Regions from separate parts of the Homo sapiens genome. Here regions 2 and 3 are each linked to region 1. The links are contacts of gene promoters, found by promoter capture Hi-C in human tissues and cell types (Jung and others, 2019). All regions are on one chromosome and are shown on one strand. The core of a region is centred on a gene start or on the middle of the fragment in contact, and the rest is flanking DNA. Distances in the headings are between cores, read along the strand shown.

What was found. Contacts are between HindIII fragments. The study calls those that stand out against the background at their distance.
Region 2: a contact is called between a fragment that was not itself captured here and the fragment with the promoter of SLC39A6 in region 1, in 2 of the 25 tissues and cell types used here (dorsolateral prefrontal cortex and lymphoblastoid cells).
Region 3: a contact is called between a fragment that was not itself captured here and the fragment with the promoter of SLC39A6 in region 1, in 1 of the 25 tissues and cell types used here (H1 embryonic stem cells).

Annotation. Positions count from the first base shown.
Region 1 is chr18:36,127,777-36,130,589 of GRCh38, reverse strand. SLC39A6 (solute carrier family 39 member 6) reads left to right here and starts at 1,250. Exons shown (of 10, transcript NM_012319.4): 1 at 1,250-1,476. ELP2 (elongator acetyltransferase complex subunit 2) reads right to left here and starts at 691. Exons shown (of 22, transcript NM_018255.4): 1 at 519-691. The coding sequence starts at 656. RefSeq lists enhancers at 440-649, 441-946, 810-999, 1,030-1,324, 947-1,452. The HindIII fragment of the contact is 7,969 bases long and covers 1-2,813 here.
Region 2 is chr18:36,562,880-36,565,692 of GRCh38, reverse strand. The region is part of intron 5 of FHOD3 (formin homology 2 domain containing 3); the gene reads right to left. Among named protein-coding and RNA genes, the nearest start is that of TPGS2, 260 kb to the left of the region's middle. The HindIII fragment of the contact is 5,121 bases long and covers 1-2,813 here.
Region 3 is chr18:36,462,998-36,465,810 of GRCh38, reverse strand. The region is part of intron 3 of FHOD3 (formin homology 2 domain containing 3); the gene reads right to left. Among named protein-coding and RNA genes, the nearest start is that of FHOD3, 170 kb to the right of the region's middle. RefSeq lists a silencer at 1,339-1,539. The HindIII fragment of the contact is 3,086 bases long and covers 1-2,813 here.

The DNA.
Region 1 (2,813 bases), core at 1-2,500:
TCCCCTATGACCTTTCCCCCAAACTGACACTTTCTCTAAAATGTCCATTCCCGTAGCTAAAACACAGGTAACATTTCCTTGAAATTCAATACAACAAAAGTTCATTAACCAAAACTGAAGGAAATACTGAAATGAGATTGCACCTGTGGGATGATGGTTTTAATCTACATATAAATTTCAATTGTTTTAAAACCCAAATTGATTAACGGTACTACAGTTCCCAAGGAAGGCTTCAGGTAAGATGCTTATCATTCGGGTTTCTGCGTGGGACTAACAGGTTACTAGCAGCTCATGGGCAGCAATGACCCTAGGATGACGCCACGCGTGAGACGGCAAAGGGTGAGGGGTGAGGAGCGAGTCCGGCAGGTCCACTGGAGACTCCGAGCCCAAACCCCGCTCCCCTGAGCCGACCCGACTCGCCTCCTAGGTCTGGGGCGGCAACTAACAGCGCGCCCGGAGCACGTCCACAGGTTCAACCCGAAAAGCACAAGGGTCGGCCGTCCAGCGACCTCTCTTACCAGGGGGTCATAGAGCACCACGGAGCAGGACGTGCCAAAGGCCAGAAGTCCTCTGGGCCCAGAGCTCCAGTTCAGGACTCCCCGCACCCGGTTTGGGCAGCAAAACACGTGAGAAGTCTCCAGCACGGGTGCCACCATGTCGCCAACTGGTCAGCCGCACAAACAAGAGACGCGCACTTCCGCCCTCGGAGCGGAACTACTAGGGTGGTTTCTCCTGAGGCATCACCCAGTCCACGTTTCGCAGCCAGCCGAGGGCCAGACGGAGGCAGCCCCGCCCCCCTGAGACTCTCCGTTCCCACCGCAGGCTGGAACCCCTGTGCAAGGCCGCCGCTTTGCTAGCTCTGCTCTTGGACCGTGGCCCCGCTCCGCGAACGAGCCAGGCCTTTGTCTCAAGAGCGAAATCCGACCCGAGTGGCTCGGGACCCTCCCGAAGGACCCGGGGCTCATGTGCCTGGGGCAGCGTCAGAAACATCTCGCTGCCCCTTACGACCCGGCTCCCAGCAGCAGCCAGGGCTGGCCCCGGGGGCGCTGGCTAGCGAGTAGGGCCTCGAGGAAATGACCCCCAACTGCTTACAATGCGCTAGGGCCGCGCCACGCCCCCGCGGCGTCGGCGAACACACGGAAAAGCGGATCCGTCTGCGGAGCCGGGTTCCGGGGTCGCACTGCGCATGCCCTGCAGTCCTGGGCGAAGGGGGCGGTGGTTCCCCGCGGCGCTGCGCGCGGCGGTAATTAGTGATTGTCTTCCAGCTTCGCGAAGGCTAGGGGCGCGGCTGCCGGGTGGCTGCGCGGCGCTGCCCCCGGACCGAGGGGCAGCCAACCCAATGAAACCACCGCGTGTTCGCGCCTGGTAGAGATTTCTCGAAGACACCAGTGGGCCCGTTCCGAGCCCTCTGGACCGCCCGTGTGGAACCAAACCTGCGCGCGTGGCCGGGCCGTGGGACAACGAGGCCGCGGAGACGTGAGTCTTTCAGGTCCGGGAGCAGGGCGGCTGGGAGGGGAGCTCCTCAGGCCAGACAGGCGTGGCGGGGTAGGGGTGGTTCTGCGGAGAACCGGATCCTGCGGACCGGGCAGGGGGGCTACAGAAAGAGGATGCTGGGGGGAGCCCGCCGCAGGCGCCCACTCACCCTAGAGAGCCGGACTTCTTAAGGTGCTCAGATGGGCTTCGGGGTGCAACGGAGGATTTTTTGAGGAAAAGATCCGTACTTTTCATCCCATATTCGAAGAAGGGACTGACGTGTTTAGAAATAAAAAGCTTTTAGAAGAGAGCTTTGTGCCCTCTTTTCCGTTTTCTGTACTCGCCTTTTTCTCTAAGGCCCTTCCCTTCTGCTTTCCTTTTTCCTCCAGCACACACCAACTTGCAGGAAAGGAGATCCTTCAACGGGTCCACGACCGCGCTCAGCATCCTCCCTGGAGAAAGGCTCGGAGCTGTCCCCTGTGCTAGTCCCCTCCCACCCCGCTCCTCGCCTCTCTCCTGGGAATGATTTCTAAATGTTTATCTTTTACCTAGTAAAAGAATTCCCGAAACTTCAAGCCCCAAAGATTCCTCTTTCAGGAGCCTCGTTCTACGCCGTACCTCCATTTCCCACTGTTCCCTGTATGATACCTCGCACTTGTGCAACACATGAGTTTAACGAGTACTTGTAATATACATTCCTTCATGTGTTTTCCTCCTTCGCCTTGCAAAATAGGTTTTACCGGTATTTTAGATAAGGTAATGAATGCGAGAGCCCTGTCCAAAGAACAGCTGACCGTGGTAGAGCTGGATAGCCCCATGCTCTTGCTTAGTTGTAAACTTGACGTCTGCGTCTTTTGCTGGAGATGTGAGTTTGACCACCATCACCTCCACCGTTGGTGCTGGACATCCTGCTGGATCTGAATTAACTGAATTCTGGCTCTGCTTAACTGAATTCTGCTTTTCAAGCTCCAACTCAATTGCTTCCTCCTCTTTGGGGCACAGGCCTTTGGTTCCAAACACTACTGTGGATGATTAACAGCCTGTGATTAAATGTTGACTGGTTTGTAGTAACACAAGGATGCTACAGTGAGTTTTTCATGAAGTTCAGTTTACTTTAAGAATTCTATGTATGGACATAATGTGTCTGATTCATTGTCAAGTCGGAAAAAAGATTCAATGTGTATTTAAAGTATACACTTATTTGAGGCTGGGCGTAGTGGTCACGCCTGTAATCCCAGCACTTTGGGAATTGGAGGTGGAGGATCTCTTGAGGCCAGGAGTTCAAGACCAACCCGGACAACATAGTGAGACCTCGTCTCTAGAAAAAAAAAAAAAAAACT
Region 2 (2,813 bases), core at 81-2,580, 440 kb before region 1:
TTGAGAATGTGACTGGAAATAATTCCTATTTATTTCTACCAAAAGTACAGAAAAAAAAATAAATGAATGGTATGAAACATTAAAGAAACTTACCACAGGGCAACATTCTGCTATAAGCAAGTATCAGTGGTAACTAGGTTTTATTTTGTTTTGGGAGGAATGATCTGTGATTTGCACATTGGGAATGAAGATGGGGATACTGTAGGGTACAATCAGTTCTTCCATGAGCCCATCACTAAGCACCAAGATAGGCACTGCTTTCTTCAATTAGAACACAGGAGCTCTGAAAATGTGCAGTGAGTTTTTAAATCAAAGTAATCTCCAGAGAGAAAAACAAAACAAAACTATTAGTATCACTCACCCCTTATCTTCTGGGAAGGGCTAATTCATCTTAAAGAAGGGATTTCAATTAATTTTAATCAGACCATTAAAATTCATTCTTCTTAACTCTGAACTGGATTTGTCTACCCCTAATTTCCATTATTCACCAGAGCCCGCAGTAAGTATTAAAAAGAGGTTGATATTGTTGACATTCTTGGAACTAAATGAAGACCTTGGAGTCTAGTTATTATTCTTTTCCACTTAATTGTCTGCCCTAAATAACAAGCTCCGGTCCAGTTTTCCCCAAGGGCAACTGTCAAAGAAATACTCTTTCAATACCTATTACAGCATGAAAATTAAGGAGAATAAGCTGCCAATTCTAGGCTGGAGACAAGAATTTAATCAGCACAAAGAGCTCCAACAAGGTGTCAAAGTTTTGAGTCCCTTGCTGACATTTAGCAGCATTTGCAATGCAAATTTTTCTAAAGCAGTCTTAAATTACTACCCTCTCTCTACCTTAGAATGACCATTTTCTAAAAAAGGTCCCCCAAAAAAGTTGTTAAAAAAATCAGACCTAATATTCTCCCCTAACACTTACAAGCTTAACTCTTAGTAACTCTCAAAGGAGGGAGGGCCCGTCTCCCCTCCCTCCTCCCCAGGCCTTCCAAACAGAAACACTGACACTGATGTGCTTCTTTCTGATAGACCTTTCTTCCCAGCAGGACATTATGTAGCTAAGCTCTCTGCATCTTCTCCCATCTAATACACACAGAAGACTGGTTTGTTTCTGGCCTATTCATTCATCTTCCCAACAGCAGCAAAGTTTATATCCAAGATTCCCATGCTAAAGATTTAAAAGGAGCCCTCATCAGCCACCTGTACAGAAACAGGTGCTTCATTACTGCTGGGCTGTAGCAGCCTCAGTTACACCTATGCTCCTCACCCTCTCCCAGTCTTTCCCGTTCTACAGTCCCCCATATTTTAGATAAGGAGACACCAAAGGAATGAAGGAAAGTATAACAGATTAGCAAGTTTTGAACCTCTAAAAATTTTTGGCAGACTTCTAGGTTCTCTATGGAAAGTAAAACAGTCATTTTAATGATCTATTCTATAATGATCTTCTAAGACTTACATCCAATGAAATACCAGTGGAAGCACACAGCCTCTCCAAAACAGGTCACAGCCACAGGTGGAATGAACCAGAAATGGACTCTGCAGCAGGGTCAGCAGTGGCTGGACTGTCTCATTCGCGCTCATGTGTTCACCTGGGGTGTCACCTGGGGTGACACCGAGTCAGTGACAAGGGCTTGGCCAATGAACCCGGGAAAAGCAGCTCCTCCTAGCTTAGTGACGGCCCATGCAGGACACATACACTTAGGGCATCTGTCCCTGACTGACATCCCTGCTTACCAGGTGACAGAGACAATGAACACAAGGTGTAGAGACGAGTAATTAAGCCCAAGCAGAGTGGAATGGAGCTCATAAACACCCAGATTCAGAGAAGGGTGCAGCTGATATGAGCCTGAGTAATTAGAGGAGGATTCATGGAGAGGCTGACAAGAAACATACCTTAAAGGATGGGGCACATGTAGCTGGGAGAAGACACATGAGTTTCCAGGGCATGAGAAAAGAAAAGATACCAGAATAGTTCCCCTGATTTTTGCTTCTAAGACAGTACCGCATCAAGAAAACTCACGGGACTTAAACCCACGGAGAAGCTGGTTTGCATGTAATCTCCACCATTTCTTACTTCCAAAAACTATGGAGCTTACGCAGTCATAAGATGGAAGACAAGTCCAACCTGGATCCTGTATGGTTAGGATGAAATATGCTGATGTATTAGCACAGCACGTGGCTGATGGTTGGCTGTTCTTGATGCTGTTATGCTAATTAACCTCTCTGGACTTCAATGGTATCATCTGAGAGACACAAGGGTTTAACCCAAAGACCTCCAAAACTCCCAGTTCCAAGGTAACATTACTCGAAAGCCCCTGCGGGGGTGTATTATGAAGTGTCTGGCACTAGGGAGCAAGCTTTCACTAGGTATTTCTATCTGCAGTCTGAGGTTTCAGACATGATTCCACAAATGTGCCTTATTAATATACAACCCTTCAAAAATCAGTCCTCTGTAAAAATCAGAAATAGGTTTTTGGATGTTATGTAAAACAATTAAGAGTACATGCTAGTATATTAATTCTGTACTTCTCTCTATTTAGGATTTCAACACTTTTAGAATTTTAACTTTAAAAACCCTCAATTTACTCAACTTCCTTACTAAAATTTCACCAACCATGAAGACTCTGTGTCTAGAAGCACGTACCTGAGGGGACTCGTTGCTGAGCCCATGCAAAGGCCACATAAACTGTGTCCTGCGATTACATGATGGCCGGCATCCCAGGCCCTGACTGACAGGCTCAGGGTTCCTAGGCCTGTCCACAGAGGAGAATCATCACAGCAAAGCCTTAAACCACTGCCCCTCCTCACGCCTTGGA
Region 3 (2,813 bases), core at 130-2,629, 340 kb before region 1:
TGACCCTCATGGCAAGCAGTACAAATTGAACCCACCACGCCCACACACAGCCTCAGATCACCCTAAACACAGCATTTCAGAAATCTAGTATCAATCAATAGGCTTGGTCCTTGAAAGAAAACCTACTTAGGATCCTTGGTTTAAGTCAATGTGTGGGTGATCAATCTCTCACAAATGTCTGATGAACCTAGAATCATTAGGAAGCCATCAGCCAAGCCTTCCACCATCACACCCCTGGAAGCAGTGTCAGGGAGGAGCAATGGGCTAGAAAAGCCTTCCACAAGGGCGGGTGGGCAGCACTGCCCCTCCTGTACCAACCCCTGGCTCCCACCCCTGCGCTTTGCAGAAGCCAGCCCAGGCCACAGCCTCAGCCCTCGCCAGTCCAGGCCCAGGTCATTTCGGACCCATGGTTCTGGAGGCAGCCACGAACATCATTGCTTGTGCTCCTCTTAGGGTATGAGATCCGTGTCTAATTGTTTTTTTTGTTTGTTTGTTTGCTCTGTCACCCAGGCTGGAGTGCAATTGCATGATCTCAGCTCACTGCAACTTCCGCCTCCCGAGTTCAAGCAATTCTCCTGTCTCAGCCTCCTGAGTAGCTGGAATTACAGGTGCCCGCCACCATGCCCAGCTAATTTTTGTATTTTTAGTAGAGATGGGGTTTCACCATGTTGGCCAGGCTGGTCTCGAACTCTTGTCCTGAAGTGATCCGCCCTCCTCAGCCTCCCAAAGTGCTGGGATTACAGGCGTGAGCCACAGCGCCCAGCCATGTCTAACTTTTTGCCTAAGATTGTCATACCAATTTTTATATTTCTATTTTACTATTATTTAAAAAGTTGTAAACATCCCATGGCAGTTTGCCTGCGTGTGTGTGTGTGTGTCACAGAAAAAGATAGTCGGACACTGAAGGGCAGCTATCCCTGTGTGTTTTGGGGCCTATGGTACACAAGAAAGAAGGAAGAAAGAGGGGGGAGAGACAGAGGGTGGGAGCAAGAAGAGTGCTGAAAGATGAGTCTTTGTTCTTATTTCCTCTGAAACCAACCCTCTCCTCCTCCTCCCAGGACCTCCCTCCCCCTTTGCCTCCTCCTGGGCCTCCTTCCCTCCTAAGGACCCAGCCTGGTCTCCCTCTCTGACTGTGTCTCTGGCACTCCCTCTCTTTCTCCACTTGCACACAGATCCTTTCCCCTTCTGTAAGTTATCACATTGGCAGTCACCAAAGGAAAAGAAGTGCAATGTCTCTTAAGTGTTAGTTGATGGAATTTTTATCTTCTTGACCCAAGTTTCCTTGACTGGGCTTGACTCACTCCACAGGAGCCAATCCATCCCTGGCCTGAGCCTCCTGGGTGCTGGAGTCCAAGCTGTATGGCAGCATCACCCAGTACAAAGCATACCAAGCCTTAGAAGTATCCAGAGGTCTGCCCCGCTGCACATCTCAAATAGCAGTAAGCATTTTCTGGAATAATTTTAAGGGCAGCAAAATGTCCTTAGGAACTGCTCAAACGTTACTAATGAAAGGAATGTTTATTGCTCTAACTGACTTGTCCTTTGCTAATCCCTTCACCAGATACCTTTTATCAGAGAGGCATGCAGTTCATTTCTTCGACACGTCAATATTGACACAATCATCTGAAAACTCAAGTGCAGTGGCATGTTTCCCAAAAGAATTATCAACCTGGCCACAGATACGGTCCAAGTTGAATGTCAGCTATTGGAAGCATAAGGCTCTTCTGACTAAATAGAATTAAAGATGGTTGCTTTCTCCTATTTAATCTCATTGCAAAAACTACTTGTTCTATTATTGAGAACAATTCTAGCAATATTTTTGAGCTTAAGAAGCTATTTTCTGAATCAATCTTATGTTTGAGTATTTTATTATTTAACAGCAACCCAAATAAGAAAAAAAAGTTTTAAAGAAAAATAATTAGATTTTAATTTCTCCAACTTCTAGTGTCTCCTAAGCTTAAAAACACGAAGAAAGCACTGAGAACATTTATATTTTCTGCAAATAAATTGGCACTTGGGCCAGGTATGGTGGCTCATGCCTGTAATCCCAGCACTGGGAGGCTAAGGCGGGCAGATTGCTTAAGCACAGGAGTTCGAGAACAGCCTGGGCAACATGGTGAAACCCTATCTCTACAGAAAATACAAAAATTAGCTGGGCATGGTGGTGCACACCTGTAGTCCCAGCTCAGGAGGCTGAGGTGGGATGATTGCTTGAGGCAGGGAGACAGAGGTTGCAGTAAGCCGAGATAACACCACTGCACTCCAGCCTGGGGCGACATGGCAAGATTCTGTCTCAAAAAATATATATATTTTTTAAATAAACAAAAAAAATTTTTAAATAAACAAAAATATTTTTTAAATAAAAAATATATTTTTTAAATAAAAATATATATTATTTTTTTAAATAAAAATATATATTATTTTTTTAAATAAAAATATATATTATTTTTTTAAATAAAAATATATATTATTTTTTTAAATAAAAATATATATTACATATATATATTTTAGTGGCACTTGGGTTAAATGCTTGTCACAGCCTACAAGGTTTTCAGAAAATAATTCCTATTTATTCAATTCTAAATGAACAGAGATAATGGAAATGGAAGACAACCACCTAACTAATTTGGATTTTACTAAAATTTTAAATCTAAATTAGTTAATATGTGGTGATAAAATTCCCATTAACATAGTTGTCAATCTTTTAAAAAGTTGAGAAATCATGGAAATCAGAGTTGCAATGGGTTGGTATACAACTGGAGACATTACTATTTATTGCTAGACATTACTATTTGTCTTTAAACTACTGAGAA